Regions from separate parts of the Homo sapiens genome. Here regions 1, 2, 4, 5 and 6 are each linked to region 3. The links are contacts of gene promoters, found by promoter capture Hi-C in blood cells and fetal thymus (Javierre and others, 2016). All regions are on one chromosome and are shown on one strand. The core of a region is centred on a gene start or on the middle of the fragment in contact, and the rest is flanking DNA. Distances in the headings are between cores, read along the strand shown.

Region 1 (2,875 bases), core at 175-2,674, 2.9 Mb before region 3:
CGGATCCTCTCCTGCTTCTACCTTTTTTCCATATTGCACTCAGCATCTCTCACATACTTATTTGCTTAGATATTATGTTTGTTGTTTAGAGTTCTGATCTCTCTTCTGCTCCCCTTCCACCCCATGTGAGCTCCATAAGGGCAGAATCCTTCTTTCGTTTAACTGAGGTATCCCAAGCACCTCCAACAGTGCAGGGCATACAGCAGGTGCTCAGTAAACAGCTGATGGATGAATGAGTGCTAAGACTCTCTTGTACTCGTAGGGATCGCTGGATGCATTCCTTCAGAGGGAGAGCTTTGAAGGACACGGTAAAAAATTTCACTGCGTTGACTCCAGGTTTAATAATATAATATTAGAAGGAAGAAACTACTTTCTTAGTTTTCTTCTTACTCTATTCTTCCCATTTAATGGCCCTCCACCCCTTACTCCCAATTCTCCAGTGTTCTCTATGCAATGGCCAATAGCAGCATTTATCCATTTAGGGTGAAAACCTGGAGAACGCTCCTGGATTTCTCTCTTCCCCTGCACAAAACCCAAATCTTTCTACAGTTCTCTCCGTTTCCGATCCCATGATTCTGGCCAGGGGCCCTCACTACCAGCCTTCTCAAGGGCCGCTGAAGCAGCCTCCTGCGTGGGCTCCCTGCAGCTGCGGAGATATTTCAGCTACTCTGAAGGGCCACACGTGCTCTCACTTCCCTGACACCCCTCCCCTTTCTCCCCGCCCCTCCACGGTTAGGCTTGTTGACCATAACAAGCAGCTCGCTTGTATTAGGCGCTCACGTTCTGCCTCCCCTACTGGGCAGTGCATAACTTGATGAGGCTTGAGGGCAGGGGTCGTGTCCCTAGTGCCCGGCTCAAAGTGGAAGCTCCAAACTTATTTGTCGGTCGTCTCCCTTGTTGCTCTGACTTTCCACTTTGTATACCCTGGGGAACTGAGCACAGGAGGGAGGCGACGCGGCTGGTGTCACTTTGGGGTAAAGCCCCCTCTGCTCCCCGCCGTGTCCCCGGCCAGCTCTGGCCCCCTGCATCCGGGCTCTCTCACCTTGGCGGAGACCTCCCTCCAGCGGCAGAAAGCCTCGTAGGCAGCGCGCACGGCGGCGCGGGCCTCTCGCACCCCGCAGTCGGCTACCATGCCCAGAGCGGCGCCGCTGGCCGGGTCTTGCACGGGGAAGGTGGCGGCGGCCGGGAGCCAGCGGCCGCCCACGAAGCTGTCGGTGCGCAGCAGCGCCGCAGAGAGGCCCGCCAGGCGCCCAGCGTAGCAGCGGAGCTGGGCCGGGCCGGGCGCAGGCCCGGAGGCAGGGACCAGGCCGCCGGCGCGGGGGCGGAGGCGGCAGCCTGGAAACGTCGACCCGAGGCGCCGGGCCCCACAGCTCCGCAGCCAAATGCAGGTCGCCATGGCCCGGGCAACGACGGCGACAGGAAACAGGCAAGCGGGCGCGCGCGCACGGGAACGCAGGGGTCGCGGGGAAGCAAGAGGAGCGAGGAGGCGCCGGGGACGCGCGGGGAAAGCGTGGGAGCTGGCGGAAGGTTGCAGAGCCACAGAGCAGCGCCCTCTCTCCGCGTCTTTCTCGCTGCACCGCCGCGCCGCCCTCTGCACCTTGCCCTAAGCGCCGCGCGGCTTCTCTCCTGGCGCGACCTTCTCCCGGGGGAGGGTTGGGTTCGGGGATGGAGAAGGCTCGCCAGTAGATGCACCTGCGGACTGCTGTCACCTTTTCACTTTTCGGGTGCTCATTTGTCACTAACTGCTCCTGAGCCCCCAATCGCTGCTAGAGACCCACTCTCTCCCCTTAGCATCCCCCAAATTCGGCATCCCCGGAATTTGTGCGCGGTCCATAGATGCGCTGGTGCCTGCCCTAAATGCCAAGGCCGTGATCACGCTTCTTCAGTTGTAGCTCCTGAGCACGTAGTATTGATTGGGAGCGATCGTTCTCTGAGGGGTCGAAGTGTGACCCCGCGTTCTGCTGCCTGGCTGCTTTTTTGGGTGTGTGTCTAGGCATTCTCCTAGGGTTGCTCCCGATAAATAACAGCGCTTTGGAAATAAACAGACTAGGATCCAAACTCAAGTCTGTTGCCGACAAGCTGTGTGACCGACAGGTTAACCTTAGTCCAGTCACTTATAAAATAGAACCATATCTACCCCATTTTGTTGTGAGATAACGTAAAATGCTCATTACAGTTGCCACATTAAATTCAATATAGCGTTCAAAGTCATACTAGCTACCCTAGTCAAGCCACTAGTAAGATTAAAGTTGGGTCACCAACTAGTAAATGGAAGCATTTGTCAAAATTGAATCAACCAAGGTATAAGGATTGAGCATACTATCCAACCAAGGTATTTGAGCACCTTTAAACAGCATTCTTCATCCGTTAAAAAATTAGACTTGGGCTTAAGACTCTGAAAGCAGCAGGGAAGCTTAAAACCTAATGAGGATAAAAATAAAAATAGCAGGCGTATGCTGGGAATTTGTGGGTGCAAATGAAGCCCAGCCCTATGCATTGATTTTAGGTTACATATCTCCCTTTCTCAACTCCTACAGCGTTGAGAGTATCTTGCTAGCTTTCACCTTTTTCTAGGACGTTGAATTTTTTTCTAGGACATTTGCAAAATGCCGAGGCAGTAACTTTAAATTTTGACTTTGTCTTTTGCTGAGTCAGATCCATTGAGTTTTGAGCCAGTCACATATGGCAGAAGTGATAACAGTAGAGTTTAATCAATTTCACACTATTTTGCTCTGTATTTTATTGCAGGAACTGGGGAGAACCAGGGAGTCCTAATAGGGATGTGGGCCAGTAGGTATCACAGGTGGGGCTGGGGAGCTGGCGTGTTTACATCTCCTGCCTGCGGAGGGAGTTTTTGTTTTTGTTTTGTTTTGTT
Region 2 (3,008 bases), core at 233-2,732, 2.6 Mb before region 3:
TATGGTGCTGACATCTGTGATAAAGGCAGGAGTCAGAAGAGATGGGATTTAATCCCCTTTCATCCCTGACTGTCTTGATGGCCTCAGGCCTCTGAATTAGGTTGACAAGACTATGGTCTCTCTTTACTTCACAGCCAATCATCTTGAAAGAGTCGTCTGTACTGCTTGTCTTCACTAATTCACCTCTTTTCTTATACCACAACCCCGTGTAATCTGATTTTCATACTGTACTATAATTACTGTTACTTAGGTGACCAGATCAAGGGGATCCCCAAATGGCGGGACACTTTAATACTGATTATTCCTTTGGTGTTGACTTCCACTTTCCCGCATCTTCCTTGACAGCCTACTCTTTTTTTTTTCCTGTTACCTTTTACTATTTCTTTTCGATCTTTGTGAGTTTCTCTTCTGCCCATCCCTTAAATGTTGTTTCCTAGAACTCTGTCCCTAACCATTTTCTATTTTCACCCCAAGTTCTGAAACCCATGACTTTATCAATGGTATTCTGACTGTTCCCAAGTCTACATCTTTATCTTGGAACTTTATTCTAATTAACAGACTTACATTTCTAGCCACTTGCTGGACATTTCTATCAGTATGCTTAACAGGAGGCCCAAACCAATATATCAAAATCAGACCCCATCACCTCCTTTCTAACCACCCCCATCCCCTTCCTTCTGTCGTCTGGCCAGTCTTGATGAATAACACTGTTAACGATGTAGACAACCAAGCCATAAACCTGAGAGTCCTTCTTCAGCTCTTCTGTTTCCCTCAACTCTCACATCCTGGCAGTCACGGAGTCCTGCCAATACAAGTATTCAATGTCTCTTGTTGCATTCTGTTAATCCTGGCATTGCCTTCATCCAGGACCTGCGGTGTGCAGAGCAGTGCTGAGATTCCACCAAGCAGTGCCGCCCCCTCAGCCGGGAGTGGTGCTGATGCAGACTCCTATGCTTCGGAGCGTCCTGACCCATCATGGCATGCTTTGTTTCCCATTTCATTGCTTTGAAATCTCCTGGCTACCAGCCTCACTGATCTCCAATTTTAATATGTATTGCCTTTGGTGGCTTCAGTCTGACCCAGTTTCAGGCATTCTTTTCTACAGTCTTGCCTGGTCTCACTCTGCCATGATATCTCCACCTCAGCAATATCAGTCCTAGGTGGCTGTGGGTGATAACACTTTCCATGATCTCCCCCTCCACACAGCCTGTCATGAATCTTCACCTGCTTCTGTCCAGGCAACTCTGTTTCCAGGACGCTCCCTCAGCCCCATGCACCCCACTCCATGCTTAAAGTCCCTTAGTTGCTCTTCATTATCTTCATGATCAAGTTCAAATTCTTGGTCACATCAGACAGCCTTATACCCAGCCACTCCTTATCCCTACAGCCTTGCTGCAGCCACACGGATCTGCCTGCAGTTCTTGGAATACAACCTGCAATGCCTCCAAGCCTTTGCATATGCTGATTCTTCTGTCCAGAGTGCCTTCCTTTGCTCCTTAATGACTAATTTGTCTTGTCTTTTGATTTGTAGCTTCCGTCTCTCACAGCCTTCTTTGTTCTCCTCTCCCCATTTTTTTTCTTTCCTACTTTATGCACTGTCTTAACAGCTTACATAGACTTGCATGCTATGCGTATTCTGTGCAGTTGATTTTTCCATGTGACCCCCCGGTAGATAATACGTATCCTGAGGTCAGTGCCTTGTTCATCTTTCTGTGGCTGGTGTCTAGCACATGTGGGAGCATGAGGAAGCTCAGTAAACATTGCATAATAAGGAAGTAGTGAACACAGAATTTTAAAGGAATTTAAAACAGTACTATGTGTTTTTGTTACAGGCAGATACTTCATTTGTTATGATGATAAATCTAGCGTATAGAAGTATGGCTAACTCTTCTGATACAAGGTCATTTGGAGGAAGTTGGACTAACCAGAATTAAGAAGAGAAATTGTCAATTTTAGGCCAAATAAGTAACTGCAAGTCACTGGGGTGGAAAAAGGAACAATTCAATTATTCTGATGAACTAAAACTAATTTGCAGTGTAATTTTTATAAGGATGCAAAATTAGAAATGAAGAATTAAAGCTATATATACACTTGTTGGTTTAGGTAAACCTACTCAGAGGTACTTAATTATTTTCAGTCCCACTTATCAGATATAGACTTTAGAAATTGTATCATAATTTATATAGGTTAGGAAATAAGCATTATTATACATATTGTAAATAATGTGCTTTATTCTTTGTACTCTGAATATTTCTGATTTTCATGAGAATCTGAAATATCTGTATCTAAAAATAACAGAAGTGTAGGAATAAGAACAAAATTACCTGTGATCTGGGAAATCAATGATAATAATCCTACTTTTGTTTTCTGTCTACACTTAGAATATTTTGCTACACCTATTTAAAGTTAAGGTTAAATAACTGTGGTGATTAAAATCAATTCTATGCAAACAGTTAATAGTCAAATGTATACATCAATTGCATAACAGATGAGATTTAATACCCTGAAATGGGAGTTGGAGAATAGAAAGAAGCCAAATATTTCAAACTACAGTTAAGAATACTTAGCCCATATAAATGTGCGGATAAAATTATTTTTATGTGTTATTAAAAATTGCCAGAGAAAAATATGACTTGTGATATTCTTGTTTCTGTAAAGAGCTTCCATTTGAGCTGATGGGACATAATAAGACATGTGGAGAAGATTAGTGATTAAAAAAATTTGGACATTTGGGTTGTATCATTGTATTCAATTAGAGGCACTCAGAACATTAGCTCTCATTTGATTAGTTTTTCAGTCTTCCTTATGATGATTTTTTTATATTTAATCCAGAAAGGTGATGCAAAGAGGGGTATTATATAAGTTGTGACAGGGATCCCAGGAGAGTTGGCTAATACCCTTTCATAAGGAAGTGTTATTACATGTGAACCTGCCCTTCCTCTCTACCTCATTACTTGCTAAGCTTCATAAAGACCCTATCCTACTGGGTCACCTTTCTGGAAATGCTT
Region 3 (2,741 bases), core at 134-2,633:
CCGCAGCTCTTTTTCTGCGCCGGTTTGGAGTTGGCGCCGCCGCCACTCGCACCGCCGCCTCCTCCCCCCGCGTTGCTGCTCCCGCCGCCGCCGCCGCCCCCATGGCCGCCCCCGCCACTGCCACCGACCTTGTCTCCCTTCTCCCCCGGCTTGGAGGAGGCGGCGGCCGAGGAGCTGGAGTTGGCGTTGCCGGACTTCACCTTCTTCCTGGGCCGGTACTTGTAGTCGGGGTAGTCAGCCATGTGCTTGAGGCGCAGCCGCTCCGCCTCTCGAATGAAAGGGATCTTGTCGCTGTCTTTGAGCAGCTTCCAGCGTTTGCCCAGCCGCTTGGAGATCTCGGCGTTGTGCATGTCGGGCGACTGCTCCATGATCTTGCGCCGCTCGATCTGCGACCACACCATGAAGGCGTTCATGGGTCGCTTGATGTGCCCACTCGGGGTCTTGCACCAGCTCGGGTCGTCGGCCTTGCCGCCCGTGGAGGCGGTGGAGCCGGGCGTGGGGGAGGAGGCGATTCCCAGCTCGAGGCCGGCGCCCGAGTCCGAGCTCTCGCCGGCCAGCAGCGCTTCCGTGTTCTCGGCATTGTTGGTTTGCTGCACCATGGCCTCGGCTCGGCGGGCGCCCACGCGCGCTCACACCCTCGCGGCGGCCGCCGCGCGATCGCCGGGCCCTCCCGGTTCCCCGGGCCAAGCACACGCCGAACGGGAAGACGCGCGCGGCGGCCGAACTGGCCCCTCAACTCCTCGCAGGGGCGGAGGTGGGTAAAGAGAGAAAAGTCCCCAAAAGATTTGGGGAAGGAGTTCTCCGCCTCTCGCAGAGGAGTTATAGTTCCCAGGCTGGAGAGTCTCTCTCTCCCTCTCTCTCGCTCTCTCACCGCGCTGCAGTTTGCTGTCTCTCGGCTGAGTCTGGAGACCGTGCTAAAGTAGAGAGGAGTTTCTCGAATGCTGGTTGCTGAAGCTTCCAATGCAAGTTTCTCGCGGCCTCCCAGGCAAGTCTTTTTTTTTTTTTTTTCTTTTTCCCTGAAGCAGTTGATTCCAGTTCACGAGCGCTCTCGGTAGCTCAGGAAAGCGACATAGTCTCTAGCACTTAGTCCCTCTCCTACAATGCAAAGCAAAAAAGACTGTGGCTCCAGGACTCTCTGTGGGCGGAATCGGCACTAAGGAGTTGGTGCAATTATTTTGTTGCAAGGTAGGAAGCCAAAAAGCCTGCATGCAACAGACTGGCATGAATAAATGTATGTTTCCCCCTCCCTTCTGCAAGAAGGGAGCTGGTAATGGCAGGAGTTCCTCCAGTGCAGACTCTTAAAGAGCGTGCAAGAACTAGAGACCCGACAGCGAAACAGGCCTCTTCCCCTCACACACAGTTTCTCTTGCTGCAGCTTAGAGCAGACCCCAATTCCGCCTCGCGCCTCTTTATCCTTTCACAGTCTTGGCTGCAGCCAATCAGCTGCTGTAACCAACGCTTCCTCATGCCAAACCCCTCCCCCGGGCTTCCCATTGGCTTGGAACCCGATGCAATAATAATCTCCGCGTGCAATGAGAAGCTCCAAATCTGACCTCATTCCAATTTACAGAGCAAACTTTTTAAAAGGGCTAGAAGTACAGCTGAGATTTCTGCTGCCTCTTTTTTCCTTTTGCTGTGTGTGTGCGCGCGCGTGTGTGTGCGCGCGTGCGTGTGTGTATAGTGTGTGAAGAGGATGTTAATGCATGAAATTATTAAGGGGAGAGACGGAAATGTATTCTAACCATTATGTTAGATAACAAGGGGCTTGGAACGGGGCGGGGTAAGGGTGAAATACTGTAAATGGAAGCTTTCTGCTTAAAAGCCAAGTGATTATTTTTATTAGTTCTTTTCAGCATTGGAATAAAGAATCAGCCTCTGGTGCAAAATCTGTTCCCCAGCTCTTTCTTAAAGCCAAAGCTGTAAAGGGGAAGAGAAAGCCACAAAACAATAAATCAATGGATATTGAAAACCATTAAGAAAGTGGTACCTAGACACCTGTCATCACAATTATTTTAACAACTCTAGGTACAGCACAGATGTTGATGTATTGTGTAAATCCCTTCAGAACCGTTTTTGTGCTGTTTGTGGAAGGCAGGGAAGAGGACTTTGCAATAATTGCTTACTCTCTTAACCAAGCAAGGGTCAACTATGGTTATTTAATGATTTAAACTCCCTGTAAATCCTGCATAGCCCAAACAGGGGAGCTTTCCCTTGAAACACATTAGGTAGTGCTCCGTAATTACCTCAATAGGCAGATTTCCAGAGTTTTGTATAGGATGTATAATGGCATGTAAAGGATGGAAATCGGTTTTACTTTCTAAATATTTGTTTTCCCTGTTTTCAAAATTAAAGATTGCTTCACTCTCTTCCCTCTCCTCCTCCCAAAGCCATCTTCCTCCTTTCCTTCTTATATATTTCCTCTTGTTACTTGAATCGAAGGGAACTGAAAAACCAAGGCAAAGAGAAACTGTAGAAGGAGGTGATAACTGGTAGCAGAAGAGAATGGGGCCTCCGGATTCATAGTAGACCTGGCTGCTAATCCTTCTTAATGGTTTGTAACTATGGGGATGTGGCCAAGTCTCAGTTTTCCTCATCTATTATATGGGAACACTAGGAGCTACTTTATAGAGGGTTGTTGTGAGGGTTCAATGAATTTGTGACTATGAAGCACCTGATGTATTGTAAGCCCTCAATGAATACTAATATCTTCCTTTCTAATTCAAATGCCAGACACACTCCTA
Region 4 (2,775 bases), core at 186-2,685, 2.8 Mb before region 3:
ACTATCATCCTATTGTCCTGCCACATCCCCCTCTCCAGGAAACACCTGATAATGATCAATAAATACTAGGGGAACTCAGAGGCCGGTGCCGGCGCGGGTCCTCTGTATGCTGAGCGCCAGTCCCCCGGGCCCATTTTTCTTTCTCTATACTTTGTCTGTGTGTCTCTTTCTTTTCCAAGTCTCTCATTCTACCTGATGAGAAATGCCCACAGGTGTGGAGGGGCAGCCCAACCCTTCAGATAATTGAAGGCAAAGAAAAACTTTAATCATTGCTTCCAGGGCGTTGAAGTCTGGAAAATCGCTGAGTATAGAGAACATGGCTGGTAGATTTTTCATTTTACTAAAGCTTTAATGATGAGATAAGTATTTCAAACATATTACATGCCTTCAGAGATGCTTCTTTGAGAAAATATGTGATAACTTTCTCTTTAAAACAAAATTTGCACCCAGCACAATGAGACAGCTCTAAGATAACTTTTGCAAAGTCTAAGGAAAACTCTGGAACCTGTCCAGACGTACAGCCTCGTAATTCGTGGCAAAGATTTTTCTGAGAAGGGTGGGAACCATTGGAGGACTTCGAGCAGAGAGGTAATGAGCAGAGGTAACAATCTGATTTATGTTTAAATGGGTCACTCTTGCTGTGTGGGAAAGAGACTACAGAGAGGCAATTGGAAGCAGAGAGATGGTGATGATGGTTTGGGCTAAGGTGGGGATGGTGGAGAGGGGAAGATGAGTTGGGCTTGGTACCATATATTGAAGGCTGAGTTGACAACATTTGCAGATGGGATATAAGAGAAAGAGAGGCATAGATGTTGCTCCAAAATGTGTATCCCGAACAGCAGGGCCTTGCTGGTGCTATTTACTGAGATAGGGAATTTTGGAAAGGAGCAGTTTTTTTTTTGTTTGTTTTGTTTTTTGTGACGAAGTCTCGCTCTGTCGCCCAGACTGGAGTGCAGTGGTGTGATCTCTGCTCACTGCAAGCTCCGCCTCCCGGGTTCACGCCATTCTCCTGCCTCAGCCTCCCAAGTAGCTGGGACTACAGGCGCCTGACACCACGCCCAGCTAATTTTTTGTATTTTTAGCAGAGATGGGGTTTCACCGTGTTAGCCAGGATGGTCTCGATCTCCTGACCTTGTGATCCACCCGCATTGGCCTCCCAAAGTGCTGGGATTACAGGCGTGAGCCACCATGCCTGGCCAGAAAGGAGAAGTTTTTAATTGAAAACTGTGGCTCAAACCTGTAATCCCAGCACTTTGGGAAGCCAAGGTGTGCGGATCACCTGAGGTTGGGAGATCGAGACCAGCCTGACCAACGTGGAGAAACCCCATCTCTACTAAAAATACGAAATTAGCTGGCTGTGGCGGTGCATGTCTGTAATCCCAGCTACTGAGGGGGCCGAGGCAGGAGAATCACTTGAACCCGGAGGTGGAGGGTGCGGTGAGCCAAGATCGCACTATTGCACTCCAGCCTGGGCAACAAGAGTGAAACTCCCGTCTCAACAACAACAACAAGAACAACAACAAAAACAAGAACAACAAAAACTATGGCATGGCATTTGGTTTTGAATGTTAACTTCGAGAGATGTCCTAGACAGATATCTGAGTGTAGATGTCAAGTAAGCAGCCTGGAATTCAGGGAAGGTGTTGGAGATAGATAGTTACATTTGAGACTGTATAGAATATTTAAAGCCACAAGATTGGAAGAGATCTCCCAAGAAGGCCGAGCACAGTGGTTCACCCCTGTAATCCTAGCACTTTGGGAGTCCGAGGCTGGTGGATCACCTGAGGTCTGGAGTTTGAAACCAGCCTGGCTAACGTGGCGAAACCCCGTCTCTACTAAAAATATAAAAATTATTGGGGTATGGTGGCAGGCGCCTATAATCCTGGCTACTCGGGAGGCTGAGGCAGGAGAATCGCTTGAACCCGGGGGGCAGAGGTTGCAGTGGGCCAAGATTGCCCCACTTCACTCCAGCCTGGGGGAAAGCAAAACTCCATCTCAAAAAAAAAAAAAAGTCTCCCAAGAAGTGAGTCAGAGAAAAAGTCATCATACAATTGAGCTCTAGATCCTCTCATATTGAATTGTTAAGAAGATGAGATAGATCCAGCAGAAGAGTATGAGGAGTGACAAAGAAAGAAATAGAATCAGAGGGTGGAATCCTAGAAGCCAAGTAAAGAAAGTTATTTAGTTGGGGTTCAGAAACTGCTACCCCAAAATATGTTTTGACATGTTAAACTGAAGAAGCCTCAAGGTCTCGCTGGCACCACCCCCTGCCAACTGAGTCTTCCAAAGATGAAGTTAACGTTTTTTTTTAACCTAAGATCCAGACCCATTAAAAGAAACAACTGTCTCTTCTCCTCCCTGAAAAACCAAGAATGTAACCATGCTTGAACACACCCTTTGACAGGGTAATGTTCATGTTCATCTCTGTTCCCTGATCCATTCATTCTCCCTAGTAATCCCCTCAATAGAATTCCTCTTCTACTCCCTCCCATAGCCTATTTTGCCAGGGTGGTATATAAGCTTCTTAACCCTGTTGGAGGTTGTGTAATCACCCTGTGATTCTCCCTGTGTACACATTTATACAATTTGCCTTGTCTCCAATCAATCTGCCTTTTGTGGGTTGATTTTTTTAGCAAACTTTCAGTGGCTGAAGGGGAAGTTTCTCTTGGTCCCTACTGTTGCATGAATGAAGAAGTGATAAGTTATGTCAAAATTTTCTGATGGGTAAAATAAGAAATGAGAATTGTCTATATTGGACATGACACTATGGAACTT
Region 5 (3,137 bases), core at 397-2,896, 2.6 Mb before region 3:
GCCTTCTGTGTTGATCTCACTGGGAGCTGCAAACCAGAGCTGTTCCTATTTGGCCATCTTCAGAAAAGCATTTTTTTAAAATGCCAGTATATTCTTGCCTTTAGGGTCCTTGAGATTGTTTTGGTTGGAATTTGTTTTTCATAAAGGAATTGCCTGTATAAATGTAAGTCAAATATTTGCTTTGTGTGTATTGATTTTCTTTCTTAGGCCAGTAGAACACTGTACTTCTAGGAGTTGTGTGTGTGTGTGAGTATATACGTACTCACATGTGCTTATAGAATGGACTAAGTAGTGTTAATTTTCTCTAAATGATGGAAGAAATAAAAGTCAGCTATGCTTTTTAATATAATACATCAAGCTTCCTTACAATTCTAAGTGGAGGATTGGAGTTTAGGTGAGGAGGGGGAAATGATAATCCCAGACTCAGGAAAGGGGAGAAGTCACTAGGAACTACCACTTGTCCTCTGACTACTATATGATATTTTTTTTCTAAAAGCAGATTTCACCATCTGACAAATTCCATAGATGATCTTCTCAATTGTATTTGTCTTAACAGTGCAGCAGTGAAATTGCTGCTTGATGATTCCACAGGCATTTTCTGCAAGTGTCGTCTTCCTGATGAAAAGCCTAACGTGGTAAAAATCACGCAGATTTCAAAAATCCAATTTATTATCCAGGATTAGCTATAACTAATAATTTTTCATAAACTCCAGTTATAGGTATTTTTTCCTGAGGGAAAGTGAAACTTTAAGTCTTCTGTGAAGCCATAATTAAATAGTATATTTTAAGACAAAGAAGAGTGATCATCATGTATATACAACACCTGATAGCTGCAGAAACCAAGACTAATTTATATTCCAAAGTCAAAATGTCAAATATTAAGAGAAAATCATAGCCTTATTAGCAAAGGAGAAATCTCTCTGTTAATCACTTATTTAACAACTTGCAAATCTGTGAGATATTTCTTTACTTTGACATTCGATGATCCTCAGGAAGGGGAGTTGGGAGGGAAAATTGATCTCTGATAATGCTCGAACAGCCTTGGATGCATCTGCAGGGCTTGATTTCTTATTTAACTTGTGAGTGCTAGCTTATCAAAATGCAGGTATGCAGGAGATACTGAGAAACAGATTGGTAAAAGCTGGGCAATATCAACAAATTGGTATGTGCTTGAAGAAACCAAAGCCAGGTAACCAAAGGTACTTTCTTCTTGGACTCTCTTGGTCATAACATTGGGATTGCCTAGTTTATTTGTTCGATACGAGGTGCTTATGAAGTCAGGTTACAGCCATTCTCTATGGTCTGCTGACGTTTACATCCTAAGCAGCTATATTATAAATATGGAAAACTAAAAGTGTGGAGAAATTCGTTGAAAGCCCATTAGTTTCATTATAGTAAGACCAACTCTGCAACAGCCCACAATGGTGATCTGCATTAAACAATAGCTACCATTGATTAAGTAACTACTGAGTGCCAGGCACTGGACTAAGGATTTTTATTTCTTTCGTTTAATTATGAAAACAACCCTGTCAGATAGGTCTTATTGGAGCTGGGTGTGGTAGCTCATGCCTGTAATCCCAGCATTCTGGGAGGCTGAGGTGGTCTGGATCACCTAAAGTCAGGAGTGTTCGAGACCAGCCTGGCCAACACGGTGAAACCTGGTCTCTACTGAAAATACAAAAAATTAACCAGGTGTGGTGACAGGCACCTGTAATTCCAGATAATCGGGAGGCTGAGGCATGAGAACTGCTGGAATCTGGGAGGCGGAGGTTGCAGTGAGCAGAGATCATGCCACCTCACTGTAGTGTGGGTGACACAGCGAGACTCTGTCTCAAAAAAGAAACTGGATAAGTCTTATCAGTCTTATTCTATCTACCTACTTATCTATCTACCTATCTATAAATACACAAAGGAAGTGAGCTCATGAGGTGAAATTATTTGCTCAAGGCTGTACCATGTTAATTAGAGGAAATGGGACTTAAATGCTGTCTATCCAACTTAAAGGCAGACAAGTGATCTGAGGAGAGAGTATTGCATAAAAAAAAAAAGCCAATTATTAACCCAGAAAGGAAAAAAAAAATCCTAATTAAGAAAGGAAATATAGTCATGGTATACTACTTGTCTTAGCTAGAAAAGATACTTAAATACACTCTCTCTAAGGCCATTAGCTAGTTAATGTCTTTGGACTGTTTTCCTGTCATCTAAATGATCTGTGTTGTAATTTTAGTCAGAGGGCCTTGAAGAAGGAAGTTGTATGTGCCTGTGTGTGTGTATATGTCTATATGTAAGTATCTTGTGCAAATTGGCCAAGTTATTTATCCATTCTTGAGAAGCAGATTAAGTTTTAGAAGTCTTTGCTTTCATTGGGAGGCAATTCTCCATGGGTCTGTTGTGATTCTGCCCATCTTGTGAGCAGAGGCACTGCTGGCCTTTGTTCTGGACCATCTCTTTAGGTATGTTTGTATAGTGAATGGCCTTGGAAGACAGAGAGAGTGATGTCTTCCAGAACAATCATTCTCAACTTGTGGTGATTTTGCCTCCAAAGGGATATATGGTGATTTCTGGGACCACTTTTGGTGTAACAACTGGGGGAGTGCTATGGGCATCTAGAAGGTGGTGGCCAGGGCTGCTCCTAATTATCTTGTAATGCACATGACAGTCTTCACAACAAAAAATTCTGCAGCCCAGAATGTCAGTAGAGCTGAGATTGGGAAACTCTGTTCTGGGACAAAGGCTGGGTTTCTTTATTGTCCAGTATGATAAAGACAATGTCTCCCTATGGTGCAAAGGTCAGGCAAGTTTACTTCCCATTGTGAAAGATTTAATCCCATTGATTTGTACACTTAAGAGTGGTTAAAATGGTAAATTTTATGTAATATGTATTTTACTATAATAACAATATTTGAAAAAAAGAGTTTGGGTTCCCTAAGCTTGAGGTTCTTCTCCTAAAATGCAAACTAATGTGTGCATAACTAGCCCCCTTCTCATTGTGGGAATTGGGTCTTGGGTGCAAATGCTATTTTGGCTACTGCTATTGCGTGAGCAATAAAGTCCTTTGTCACTGACTCATTGGTCTCATGTTTCCTGCCAGCACCCATGAAACTGTGGCATGCTAACTTGTCTCTTGCTAGCAGAGT
Region 6 (2,986 bases), core at 73-2,572, 2.7 Mb before region 3:
CACTGAGGTGTGGGCGGAGGTTCTTCTATTAGCGTGATCCTCTGCAGGAGGATTAGTTTGGGATTGTCACATCTTTATTTCTTCCCCAGCTCCAGAGTTTGGCTTGCCTGCCTCCCTTTTCATAGATGCTACCCATTACTTCTAAGCAGGGCCTCTTTGCTTCTTGCCTTACCAGGGGCTCTGACAAGTTTCACAGCCTTTTCTTAATTCTGCTGCCTGCAAGGTCAGGTTGAACCTTTCTCTTTTTTTCTTTTTTTTCTTTCTTTCTCTCTCTCTCTCTCTTTTTTTTTTTTTTTTTTGAGGGAGTGTCTCACTCTGTCACCCAGGCTGGAGTACAGTGGCACCATCTTGGCTCACTGCAGCCTTGACCTCCTGGGCTCAAGTGATCCTCCCACGTAGCTGGGACTACAGGCAGGTGCCACCACACAAGGCTAATTTTTGTATTTTTATAGAGACGGGGTTTCACCATGTTGCCCAGGCTGGTCTCAAACTCCTAAGCTCAAGTGATCTGCCTGCCTTGGCCTCCCAATGTGCTGGGATTACAGGTGTAAGCCACTGTGCCCTGCCAGGTCTGAACCTTTCTGTAGCTTACTACAGATAAAATATGCATCCGCCCCAGTGGTGAGTTTCTGGCATACCAAAGACTGAAGCATGATTTATCTGCTTTTCTGAAAGAAGCTGAAATTGGGTCACTCTGAGCATTTCATCCTGGAATCTGAGGAAGGGCCACATGGGGGCTTGGTTAGGGAGGTGTCTGATGTCATGAATGTTGGTGAGATGCCTATCATAGAGGGTGACAGGGTGGAGGGAGGAGGAAGATGTAGCCATAGGGTTTATTACCCTTTCTCCCTCTTCAACTCCCTGTTTTCCTTGTCAGGCCTGGGGTGATATAAAACCTGGAAAGGGCCCGGTCCTTTAGAATATCAGCAGATCCTGGACCATAGGTCACATGTAAAGGACACAGATAAATGTTCAGAGCATTCCGCACAGAGTAGTCAGCACAGGGTCAGTATTTGTTGATATATATGTGTGTGTGTGCATGTAGGTCAATTATACCTATATTATGGTGACAATTGAAATTAAAGGCTGCAAACTGTAAGCATTGAGTAATGGCACACTCCTGATACCCATGCTTTAGAACATCTTGATGGTGCATTCTAATCTGATATTTTGTAAGCTTCATTTACAAATACTTAGAATGGATAAACAGCATTTTCCTAGCTTAGTGAATGAGGGGGAAAAGAGGAGAAACCAGTTTGCCCAGAGTCAAAGATCTATCAATGGTTAGTGATTTCTGGAAATTGCCAGACTGACACATAGCTGCTGGTTAAGAGGTGGATGTGCCTGTGTGACTGTTTGAAAGGGGAGGTGGAGGGACAAGTGAGGGAAGCTCTCGTGTGTGTGTTTTGACCTGTCTTCCTTCAGTGATAAAAATGTTGATGTATCACAGCAGACCCTGAAGCTTAGCTGGGAGATTTTGGGGAGTTCCTGTTTGTTTCTTCTTCTACTCTCCACTATTTCATATTAACTTTTTAAATGGGGATGATTGATTTTCATCCCTTCTATTTTCTAGGTGGTCGGAGTTAGTCATTACTAACAAGCCGTTTTTCTCTTTAGCAGTCTGATGTAATAATGGGTCTTCTCTATTTTGACACATCTTAGCTGGGGACTGCCTTCAGCATTTAGACCCTCTTTTCTAGGGTTTAGGGACCTTGAAGAAGGTAGATATTTTGGGGGCTGACCTCTAGTTTCTGTATCAAATGATCAAATCCCCTTTTTTAAAACAGTTACTTAAACATTCTAGGACTTAAGCTCTGCAACCCAAGCCTTTCTCTGTGTCTGAATTTCCTTCCCCATGTTTCATGACTTTCTAGACTTAGGAACCCCATCCCCTTTCCTAGGTCACTACTTTCATTTTTCAGTGAACATTTATTGAGTCCCTACCATGTACTCCACCCCTTGCTAATCACCAGAGTATTTCATTTTCTCTTCTTTGTTCTAATTGCTCAGTACTTACACATTTTCTTCCAATAGTCATAATTATATCTTTATCAATAAATTTTCCTTGGTTAAGTAGATGCAATTTACCTTTTCCCTTTCAATGACCAGACTTTATTCACTATCCCTAAATGCCAAATTATGTTGCAAGCATTGACATTTTTTCCTTCTGGGTATTGAGTCATTTCTTAGACCTCTGTATTAATTTTGTCCTTATAGAAAGTACCAGCACACTACTAAAGAACATAGGCCATTTCTACTTAAATGTATTTAGTCCAATGTCTGGGACAATTACTAAATACTGCTTGGCACTATGAGACAGGGAAGGAGTATTTCCTCACTTATGTGATACCCTGGGACTCCTTTGTAGTCTGTGGCCTATTTTGTATATGAACTCTATTTTTATTCTTCTCTATTGCCCTAGTTATTTTCAAAATAAGATATAACCTTTATTGCAAATCACCATGCAGTGTGCTATCACAGTGGAGATAAAGATAAAATATCTGTAAAATACCTTTGAGCTTTGTAGGTTTAAAGCTACCCATTTATTCTTATTTTATACAATTGGATGATAATACCAAATTGTTTCTTTGAAACTGGGCAAGATTTTATTTCCTTTAAAATTACATAATAAAGTGGCCTGGCACAGTGGCTCATGCCTGTAATCCCAGCACTTTGGGAGGCCGAGATGGGTGGATCACCTGAGGTCGGGGGTTCAAGACCAGCCTGGCCAGCATGGTGAAACCCTGTCTCTACTAAAAATACAAAAATTAGCCGGGCATAGTGTCGCATGCCTGTAGTCTCAGCTACTTGGGAGGCTAAGGCATGAGAATTGCTTGAACCCAGGAGGCAGGGGTTGCAGTGAGCTGAGATTGCACCACTGTATTCCAACCTGGGCGACAAGAGCTTCTGGATGGTGTTAAGCTGAAGGCTCTTACCCAGGGCGTTTACTGTCATTTCCTAAGTTGGGTTCCATTGAGCAGTAGTT

Evidence for each region. The method cuts DNA at HindIII sites, captures the fragments that hold promoters and counts their contacts. A CHiCAGO score of 5 or more calls a contact.
Region 1: a contact is called between the fragment with the promoter of ALDH5A1 here and the fragment with the promoter of SOX4 in region 3, in 1 of 17 cell types (M0 macrophages). The highest score is 5.3, in M0 macrophages.
Region 2: a fragment that was not itself captured here is called in contact with the fragment with the promoter of SOX4 in region 3 in 1 of 17 cell types (M0 macrophages); the score reaches 6.4 in M0 macrophages.
Region 4: a contact is called between a fragment that was not itself captured here and the fragment with the promoter of SOX4 in region 3, in 1 of 17 cell types (M0 macrophages). The highest score is 5.1, in M0 macrophages.
Region 5: a contact is called between a fragment that was not itself captured here and the fragment with the promoter of SOX4 in region 3, in 1 of 17 cell types (M0 macrophages). The highest score is 6.6, in M0 macrophages.
Region 6: a fragment that was not itself captured here is called in contact with the fragment with the promoter of SOX4 in region 3 in 1 of 17 cell types (M0 macrophages); the score reaches 5.2 in M0 macrophages.

What each region holds. Positions count from the first base shown.
Region 1 is chr6:24,493,518-24,496,392 of GRCh38, reverse strand. It overlaps ALDH5A1 (aldehyde dehydrogenase 5 family member A1), which reads right to left and starts at 1,424. Exons shown (of 10, transcript NM_001080.3): 1 at 1,043-1,424. The coding sequence starts at 1,396. It also overlaps a transcript of GPLD1 not described here. RefSeq lists a silencer at 1,029-1,418. The HindIII fragment of the contact is 3,166 bases long and covers 1-2,415 here.
Region 2 is chr6:24,213,683-24,216,690 of GRCh38, reverse strand. All of the region lies in intron 7 of DCDC2 (doublecortin domain containing 2), which reads left to right. Among named protein-coding and RNA genes, the nearest start is that of NRSN1, 89 kb to the right of the region's middle. The HindIII fragment of the contact is 2,965 bases long and covers 1-2,964 here.
Region 3 is chr6:21,592,393-21,595,133 of GRCh38, reverse strand. It overlaps SOX4 (SRY-box transcription factor 4), which reads right to left and starts at 1,383. Exons shown (of 1, transcript NM_003107.3): 1 at 1-1,383. The coding sequence starts at 599. RefSeq lists a silencer at 593-772. The HindIII fragment of the contact is 853 bases long and covers 957-1,809 here.
Region 4 is chr6:24,397,510-24,400,284 of GRCh38, reverse strand. No RefSeq gene overlaps it. Among named protein-coding and RNA genes, the nearest start is that of MRS2, 4.0 kb to the left of the region's middle. RefSeq lists an enhancer at 1-392. The HindIII fragment of the contact is 2,174 bases long and covers 349-2,522 here.
Region 5 is chr6:24,195,135-24,198,271 of GRCh38, reverse strand. All of the region lies in intron 8 of DCDC2 (doublecortin domain containing 2), which reads left to right. Among named protein-coding and RNA genes, the nearest start is that of NRSN1, 70 kb to the right of the region's middle. The HindIII fragment of the contact is 2,572 bases long and covers 361-2,932 here.
Region 6 is chr6:24,268,521-24,271,506 of GRCh38, reverse strand. The region is part of intron 7 of DCDC2 (doublecortin domain containing 2); the gene reads left to right. Among named protein-coding and RNA genes, the nearest start is that of KAAG1, 87 kb to the left of the region's middle. The HindIII fragment of the contact is 285 bases long and covers 1,180-1,464 here.